Regions from separate parts of the Homo sapiens genome. Here region 2 is linked to region 1. Evidence: promoter capture Hi-C in 16 types of primary human blood cells and fetal thymus (Javierre and others, 2016). All regions are on one chromosome and are shown on one strand. The core of a region is centred on a gene start or on the middle of the fragment in contact, and the rest is flanking DNA. Distances in the headings are between cores, read along the strand shown.

What was found. The method cuts DNA at HindIII sites, captures the fragments that hold promoters and counts their contacts. A CHiCAGO score of 5 or more calls a contact.
Region 2: a contact is called between a fragment that was not itself captured here and the fragment with the promoter of KLF7 in region 1, in 1 of 17 cell types (neutrophils). The highest score is 5.6, in neutrophils.

What each region holds. Positions count from the first base shown.
Region 1 is chr2:207,164,303-207,168,960 of GRCh38, reverse strand. It overlaps KLF7 (KLF transcription factor 7), which reads left to right and starts at 3,013. Exons shown (of 4, transcript NM_003709.4): 1 at 3,013-3,494. The coding sequence starts at 3,393. It overlaps MIR7845 (microRNA 7845), which reads right to left and starts at 2,561; the gene lies at 2,463-2,561. RefSeq lists silencers at 1,502-1,551, 2,172-2,811 and enhancers at 1,169-1,877, 1,878-2,585, 2,586-3,294, 3,302-3,401, 4,003-4,658. The HindIII fragment of the contact is 8,010 bases long and covers 1,640-4,658 here.
Region 2 is chr2:208,038,086-208,042,885 of GRCh38, reverse strand. No RefSeq gene overlaps it. Among named protein-coding and RNA genes, the nearest start is that of PLEKHM3, 15 kb to the right of the region's middle. The HindIII fragment of the contact is 1,185 bases long and covers 2,250-3,434 here.

The DNA of each region.
Region 1 (4,658 bases), core at 1,764-4,263:
TAATCAACCAGTAAGTGGTAGTTACAACAGTGCAGTTTATTTTGGTTTGCTGAACTGCCAAAGTTCTCTTGTGATCTTAATTTGTTGATTACTTTGTACATCTGGATACCTTGCATGTGTTTTGCAATGTGAATCTTGGGTCTCTAGGGTATAAAAAGTAGCTAAATATAACTAATATTGAAAATGTGCCTTTCAGAATGCCTTGCTGCATAAATCTCTTAAAATGAATCTAAAATATTCTACAAAGCTTGGAGCAAAGACCATAATGAGGTTTGCAGTATTTGCTTTGTAAAATTTTGGTTGAGTCCTTTTGCAAGTCAGACGGCTGATAGTTACATAGGAAAAGTCTCAATGGAAGCCTCCTCCTCCGGCCCCACCCAAGCAATTTTTGTAAACACACACTGACTTAAAGCTGAGGAACCCCATTTTTCACCATACAAAGCTCAGTACAGAACAGTGTGGGGAGTCAGATGCTCTTGGATTTGAACCCCTGCTTGACCACTTCCAGGTTGTGAGACCTTGACCAACTTACTTAGTATTTCCAAGCGTGGGTATCTTCATCCATAAAGTTGGGGATACTTTGGGGCTGTCCTTAAGATTAAATGAGACATTGCATATAAAGTGTTTATGCGCATACGGCACATTCGAAGTGCTTAATAAATGGGAACTATTATTTGTAAAATCTTCAAACTCACGTTAACCGATATGTCCTATTTTATTCAAAAATTGTTATAATGTAACACACACAAAATAAGTTCACTTGAGTCTCAAGTACCAAATTATATGGTTGGTCTTGCCTCACCTTTTGCCTCTAGTTTTCTATACCCAAGTTCCTTTCCTTCCCCTATTATTCATGAACATGTTTTTTGCCCTAGTGTTTCTCAATGGTTCCTGCCCATCCCCCCAGTTGAAATAGCATGGGGGTCAGGGGAGAGCATGGAGAAGGGGAGACCTTGTAACAAACTAGCAAGGGGTTTCTACCTTTCCTCTATCTCCAAGATTCTATTAATAGTATATTCTCCTAAAGGTCCTATTAGTTTACATAGCTCAAGTGGGGAGACAATGATAGCTAATATTTAGTATTCACCTAATAGTGTCAGATACTATGCTAGGTGAGTTACCAAAGATATTTTGACTCTTCATAACAACTAGACAACGCGGATCCCACTATTTCTGTTTCTGAGATGGGTAGATACAAGTTCTGACCCAGTAATTCGCTCAAAGTCGTGCAGCTAGTTAGCTGGCAGCGTCCTTGCACATCTAATTGCAGATGCATCTGCATCTACATTAGAGTAAATGTTCCAATTATACTCATACAATGAATGCTATGAATCTGGCCAACAGAATTCCAGACACTAACAAGTAAATAAATCAGGCTTTCCTCAATCCCAGTAATTCATGTTTAATATTCCTTGGCAAATACTGAATTTCAATCTGTGCTTATTTCATAGAGTAGAATCTTTCAAATGTTGTGTTATCGAGTCCTACATAGTCAAAGGGAGGGGAAAGACAAGGAGGGTGATTAAGGTGAAGCGTTTCTTCCATTACTGGTAGAACGAAGTTTCTCATCTCTTAAGCACCGAATTCTGCAATCATTCCAAAAGTGGAAGCTCAGCTCACAGCGCATTTTGGGGAAGCTTAAACCACACTAACCATTTAAGGTCAAGCAAACAATTGGCCAACCCTAACGTGAATTGTGCAGGGTTTTCATCTCAGATGTAACAGATCTCTCTATGTCTACATCCCAACTCCAGAAAACGAGAAATCGAGTTCCTCCTCTCACCATCGAAGCTCTGCAGACACCTCGCTGGAGACCCCATGGTGAGCCTCATCACGTAAAGGCCCCCTCGCAAGCTGCCGGCTCCAGCTTGCGCCCCACGTCTACCTAGGCTCCCTCTAGCCTCTTTAACGCACAGTCGAGCAACAGGCCCCTTGCAATCAACTCTAGCCGCCGGACTCCCGACCAGGTCTCTCGCTCGGGGTCAGAAGGAGGCGCGGGAGGGAGGGCGGCGGCGGCGGCGCCCGCGGGGCGGGGCGGGGACTGTGCGCAAGCGGGGGGCGGGCGCAGGCCGCGGTCTCGCTCCGCTCCCCTTTGTTCTCTCCCATTGTGTGGCACTTCCTCCTCAGGCGCTTCTTCTCTGCACCCTGGCAGCCCGTGGGGAGTTCGGGAAGGGGCCCTGGATGCCTTTTCTGCTTGTTTTTGAGTACGTGAGGACCTCCCCGGCACCGCCTCGCGCGGGTCCCTGCCCCGTGCCCAGGCGGAGGCGGGGTGGCCACTGTCCTTCCTTCCCGCTCCGCGCCCTCGGCGGCTTCCCCGCGGCCCCCTGCGCCGCGCCCCCTCCAGGAGGCGTCCTGACCCCGCACTCCGGCCTTTCACCTCCCGACCGTCAGCCTCAGGGCCGCCGCGGCGACGCGCGACCCCTTCCCTCTGAGGGGCGCGGGCTCCGGACGCGCCGGGCTCTGCCAGGCATCTAGTGGAGGGTCGGAGGTCGGCGACCAGCCCGAGCCCAGCCGTCCCGGGAGCTGGCGCGAGTGTCGCCACGACCCTCCCTGTCCCTTGCGCTCGCGCTGCCCGGCCGCCGGGCGGCCGCCTCAGCCCCCTTATATAGCCCTCTAAAAATAGCTCGCCTCGCACCGCCTTGTAAGGCAGCAGGGAGATCCGCAGCGTGCCAATCCGCGCCCGCCGCCAGGGCCAAGCCCCGCCCCAGGCTCTGCTCCGGGCTCCCCATTGGTCCTCAGTGACTTCATGAGCCCCCTGTTTACCTTACATGGTCACACGCGGCCTAATGGACGCCCTCCTCGAGATCCCACGGCTGCGCGGAGAACCGAACGGAGGGAGGGAGTTTGGGGAGGGGGAAGAGCAGGAGGAGGAGAAAAGGGAGGGGGAAGACTACAAACTAGCAAGGATGGGGTGGGGGGTGGGGAGGGAAGGGAAGGGGGGGGAAGAGAAGCGATCGCGAGAGAAAAAAATGCAACCTCCCAAAATAAAGAGCAAAGATTGCATTAGGAGCGAACAGCGCTGCAGAAATAGATGGCAGCTTCGTGTCAGTGAGTTTGCATCCCCCTTCCTGATCCACGAGCTGGAGTGATTAGAGCCCTGGAAGGGAATTGTTACTCCCGTGGAGAAGTCCCCTTTTCCTGGCAGTCGTCTGCACTGTACACGCTGGATGCCTCTCTCCATCCACCCCACTCACTCGCTCCTCTCTCACCTCCTCTCTCCCTCTCCTGCATTGATTTTTTTTTTTCCTTTTTAGTTGACTGAAACAAAACAAAACAAAAGGGCCACTGGATGTCTGCCTTCTTGGGGGGTGAGCCAGACAGACTGACAAACAAACAGCCCCAACTGTGTTCGGGGGAGGGTTTCGCCTCCCGTTTTGCCCGGCAGCAGCAGCATGGACGTGTTGGCTAGTTATAGTATATTCCAGGAGCTACAACTTGTCCACGACACCGGCTACTTCTCAGCTTTACCATCCCTGGAGGAGACCTGGCAGCAGGTGAATGATTTAAATTACTTGTGTAAATCGTGTGGTGGCGGCGGAGACGCAGGGGCTGCGTTGGTGTGGGCTCTGGGTTGAAATTTTTGTTTGTTTGTTTGACTTTTTTTTCTTCCTTTTTGGCTGTCTGTTGTTGAAAATGTTTTCTGAAACAGTCATCTGCGCTTACCTCTCCACCCACCCCTAACCTCGTAGAGTGCCGAGCTGAGCAGCCGGTGCGAGCTGCCTGCGTTTCAGTCGCCAACACACATCCCTGCGCACACGTTGTCGGGTTTGCTGTCCCCTATCAGAGACCTGCCGAACTTCTGGGGTTCGGAGGAGCCGGGTGGGAAGGTGGTTTGGGGTGTTAGGAGCGATTGCTGACAGGGACCACGTTCTCGCATGCATGAGCTCTACCCACTTGATACCTGAAATCAGGTTCATCTGTTTCAACTGGTGCTTATGACCATCGGATGGGGGGCGGGGGAGGGTGGGCAGGAGCAAAGCGGAGTGTTTTTCAGTAATTAGCGAGTGTCAATAAAGAATAGGAGCTTGATTTTGAGATTAGAAGGTAGGCAAAAGAGAGAAGAGCCCACTGACAAAAGATACTCAAGGAGGACGGGAAGATGTAGCTGAGGCTGACAATGAATTGTAGGTTTTCCCAGTGTGATCCCTCCAGAAAGAGAACACCCTCTATGCGTGTCCTTGTTTCTCTTTTTTGTTTAGGGTCCTTCTCTAGTTAGGCAGCACAACCTCGGACAAAGGCTGATGTGTGCTTCCATGCCTTTGACTTTGTCTTAGAGGACTAGTTAAGAAACTCCCAGGATGCTGAAGGGCACCGATGCCAAGTTGGCTAGCCGTCCCAGGGAGGATGAAGTGGGGCTGGTGACAAGTTCACTGGGCTTTGTGAAGTGGAATAAAGAAAGTGCTGGTCAGTGGAAAGTGCTGGCTCTGCTGCGGAAACAGTGGTTTTTTTCAGCAGCGATTAGGAGCTGCTGAGGGGACATTCTGCAGGAAAGATGGTGGGTGGGGGCGGGGGGACACGGGTATTTAAAAATTGTACAGTGTGCACCATGGAAAGTCCAAGAAGACAGTCCGGATTTGCACATAGGAAGTGTGAACTTGTACAGTCCGTCCTGGAGAAACCCGCTTGCCCTTGGGGGGAGGGCTGTGAGAGGCTCGGTG
Region 2 (4,800 bases), core at 1,593-4,092, 870 kb before region 1:
AGTAAAGATTATGTGTTTGCAGCAGTCTCTTCCAGTAGTACCAGCTCTAGAAAATTTCCTGGCACTGGCTCTGAACTTGAATGCATCTGGAACCCATGAGGTGTGACCATGTGGCTTTATGTTCACCTGTCTTGGGAGGACAATTCTCTATGGGCCTCAGATTTTCTGAAAACACAATTTTATAATAAGACTTTTTCTTTGGTCTCCAGACTGTCCCTAAATTGGTGCAATCCTGAGGCTGAGTGATGCAACTTGATTATAAGACAGCAGTCTGGGTCTAGGTGGCCATACTAAGTATAAAATACACGTATGCAATCAATTTCTAGCTTTTTTTTTTTTTTTTTGACAGGGTCTCACCCTGTTGCCCAGGCTGGAGTGCAGTGGTGCAATCACAGTTCTTTGCAGCCTCGACCTTCTGGGCTCAAACAATCCTCCCACCTCAGCCTCCCAAGTAGCTGAGAATACAGGTGTGCACTACCACGTCTCGCTAATTTTTAAGTTTTTGGTAGAGATGAGGTCTCACTATGTTGCCCAGGCTGGTCTCAAACTTGTGGGCTTATAGCTTTATATTTTTAAAAGGAGTGATAGGATACACGGCTTCAGTCAGCCCACTGAATGCCTGATCCCATTCAGTATGAGTCATGGTACATTCAGCTGGCTGTATATGGCCTGATGGCCTTCTCTCCAGGGCAGCTAAAGGCAACAGAATACACACCCAATCCATGCTGTTACTCTGCATCTACTGAAGCCCATGCTTCCTTCTCTAAACAGTAGAGAAAGTCCCCAGTTTTCTTGGGGATCATAAATAATTGGAACAATTCCACCCACCTATTTCTGTGCTGGCATATCTGGAGTGCTGAGACACTCTAATTCTTCAACTTCTTCTTTGGATAGACCCTCTGTTCTCTTTCCCACAGGGTCTTGAGAAGACAGGAGGCATCGCTAAAGCTTGTGTATGTCTACTTGTGCCTTGTGAGTCTGTTATTGTGTAAAGATGCTCTCAGAGGGGGAATGAGAATGTGCTTCTAGTTCTGCCCCTAAAACTAGAAAATTAGTCTTTAATCCCATAGGAAAAGAGACCTGGCCCCTTACGCTGATCTGAGAAAATATGGAATATAGGTAGTTCCCAAATATACCGGACATAGGAACCTCTCAGGGAATAAACTTTGGTTGATAAATTGCAAACAGGCGGCCAGGCGCAGTGGCTCACGCCTGTAATCCCAACACTTTGGGAGACTGAGGCGGGCAGATCATGAGGTCAGGAGATTGAGGCCATCCTGGCTAACACGGTGAAACCCCATTTCTACTAAAAAAAAAAAAAATGAAAAAAAAATAGCCAGGCGTGGTGGCACGTGCCTGTAGTCCCAGCTACCCAGGAGGCTGAGGCAGGAGAATCACTTGAGCGACAGAGCAAGACTCCATCTAAAAAAAAAAAAAAATTGCGAACAGGCATGGAGGAGCCGGGGTACAGTATTTTGAATCACTATACACAATGCAACAAAGATTTATTAAGCACTCAGGTCACAAACATTGTACTGGGCACTGAGGACAGGATGGTACAACAAAAATAGGCAGAATTATTGCTTATGGAACATGTGGTTATTCTCATGAAGCTTACAGTTTCACAGCAAGGTAATTATTAACATAAAAGCATTCTGATAAGTATAAACGTTTACTGTAAATGCTGTGAAGAGGAGCATATGGTGCTATAATTGCATGATATAGACGTCGTCAACCTAGAAGGGGCACTAAGGGACAACTTTCCTGAAGGGCTGACTACTGAGCTGAGAGCTGAAGGATGAGTGGAAACTACTCGGGTAAAGAGTGTTCTAGACAGAATGATATGCAAAGGCCCTGTGGCAGGAATGAGCATGAATTGCTCATGGCATTGAAGAAGGCTGCAGTGGCTGAAGCAGACGCTAGGGGGAGCATGGTACAAGATGTTGCTAGGGAGGAAAAAAGGACCAGACCATGTCTGGGTCTCTTAAATCACAGTAAGAATTCTTATGAGCAATAGGAAGCTACTGAAATGCTTAAGCAGGTTTCTGTTTTGAAAGAGCTACTCTGGCTGTTGGCTGTTGCAGAGTTAATGGATTGAAAGGGCCAATAGTGCTGCTAGGAGGTGATTGCAGGACAATTGCAGTCACCCAGAGGAGAGAAGATGGAAGCTTGGTCTAGGGTTGGGAGAGGGGAAATGAAGAGAGGTAGACAGCTCTGCACAGAAGAGTTCCCTGTATGTGATGCAAGCTTCTAGGAGAGCTAAGCATTTGAAGCCTTTGTTATAAAGCTAACTGATTATGGAACAGTAGTTTTAATTTAGGTGGCCGTATTAGGTTTGTAAGCATGTGATTGACTTCTAGCTTCATATTTTAAAAGTGATAATGGGACAGGCAGTTTTTCTAGAGAAGTGGAGTCCTGGAGAGTGAGTAGAGAAGCCAGCTCAAGGAGAAATTCCTCAGGAGTGCCATTCTGCTTTATCACCACTGAGTGCTGCTGTTTCCAATGACAAGTTCCCAAGAAACCAAAGGGCCAAGTAAGGTAAGAGGAACAGTGGCGGGGGAGCGGGGGGTTGGCAGGGGGCAGCGGGGAACCAACTTAGAGTTTTAAAAAGTGGAGAAGACAAAGATGTTTTCTAATTTTGGAAACCTGAGTCCTAAGCTGCAAGGGTCCAAATCAAATTTTTGGGAAGGTCATTTTGTAATATGGTAACTTCTTGCTTTACTGTCAGCATCTCTAAAGACAGTCCCCAGTAATAAAGGGGCCAAAAGAGGCTTTTTTAGAACCATTAGTGTACCCCTCCTGTACAGTCCCATTAGCGGGCCTTGTTAAACCAACCCAGACAAAGAGCAAAGATGCCCTAGTTAATGGAGAGTCTCCGATAATTACTCTGCTCAGCCGCTTCTTTTAGGGTCTGAATGGTCTTTAAATAATGTTTCTCTTGCTGTGGTCACAGACAATGACCTAGCAGTCTGCTTTAAGCGGTGCCAATCCCATTAGCCGAAGAATAGCAAAGCTCTGTGTGTGTCTGCGTGCCAAGGAGCGAGTGTGTGTGTGTGTATGTGTCTGTGCGTGCATGTGCGTGTGGTGAGGAGCTCAGCTTATGGCAGGGATCAGGCTTAATGTTGCTTTCTTCCTCTTTTCCTCCCTTTCTCTACACATCCATCCCTCCCAGGAACCAAACATACCACTGTGTCTATTGGGTCATCTGCCTGTTGAGTGACAACCTGCCCTTACTGAAAATGGAAACAGACTCCCTTAAATGCTTGCGGACGATGTTTCTCATTCCTACTTACTAAACACTTCTCTGTAGGATGTGATTCTAAACATGCCCCTGTCCTCTAAGAACTTCACGTCCCAGAACCACAATAATGCAAACAATGTAAAGTCACCCCAGTAAATGTGTGCCATTCAGGGTGGAAAATGTTTTAAAAGCTTCATAAATGTGGAAGAAAAAGATTGAGGGTACAAAAGTTATAGGAAGAATGCCAAGATCTTTGGAATATTTTCCTCTGTGGCTCTCTCTCCTGATGCCTTGCAACTCTTTTTTCTGATAATGAGAATGCTTACTTATATTTGAAGACAAGTTATATCCCAGACACAGAATGTGGAAACGGGGCAACATTAATTTATTTAGGAAGGATCGAGTGCTCCAACATGAAAGTGTGAATAAGTTCGATCGTGAACTGTTTTGTAATAAAAATGTACAAAACAACATTCAGAAACACTGCCGTAAATGGAACCTGGTTGCAACCTGCTCTTGCCCACCGTTGTCTGGAGGACTTTTTCAGAAGCTCCAGAGTGGTCTGATTCAACAGTTTTTGAATCAACTGAGTGTGAAAACAGGCTAGCATAAGTAGGTAGGGTGACTCCACTCACACAAATACATGGGAGTGAGTTATTTGCAGCTCATTAAGTATCACAGGGCCTCTCCCCACCACATACCCACCCATCACCCACATCATATGCCTCCTAGGAAGAATGATTATATTGAAGCCAACAGGATAAAAGAGCCATTTTCTGTTTCTGGGTTCTAGAAAGACATCCTAGACAAAGAAATAGTCTACTTGGTAAAACTAAAAAGATGCTCCATTTAGTTCTTACTTTCTTTAACTTTGATCTGCAGTTGTTGTTGTTGTTGTTGAGACAGGGTCTCACTCTGTCACCCAGGCTGGAGTGCAGTGGCATGATCTTGGCCTGAGCAACAAGAGTGAAACTCCATCTCAAAAAAAAAAAAAAAGCTCATTTGGGTCTCAGTGTAGTGTTGGGGGAAGATTTTTAGATCACATAAGAAAAGAAAAGAGATGGGGCTGTTAGAGATAGGAGTGGACCTTAGGTAAGATATAAAAAAAAAACAAAAAACAAAAAAACAGGCCAGGTGCAGTGTCTCGTGCCTATAGTACCAACATTTTGGGAGGCTAACGCAAGAGGGTCACTTAAGGCCAGGAGTTTTAGACTAGCCTGGGCAACGTCCTATCTTTGTAAAAAAAGAGAAAGACAAATTTAAATTAGCCAGGTGTAGTGGCCTGATCCTGTAGTCCCAGCTATTCAGGAGGCTGAGGTGGGAGTTCAAGGCTGCAGTGAGCTATGATTGCGCCACTGCACTCAAGTCTGGGCAACAGAGCAAGACCTGGTATCTTAAAAATAAAAAAACAAAAGACATGATGTGTGCTTCATGAAAGGGCCATATACGCAAACCAACCCCCAAATGCAGAAGGAACCAAGAAACCAAAGAACAAGGCAGACAAATCCAGTTTGTCAGTAGAGGGTTATTTACTGGGGAACTTATGGACAAAAGGATGG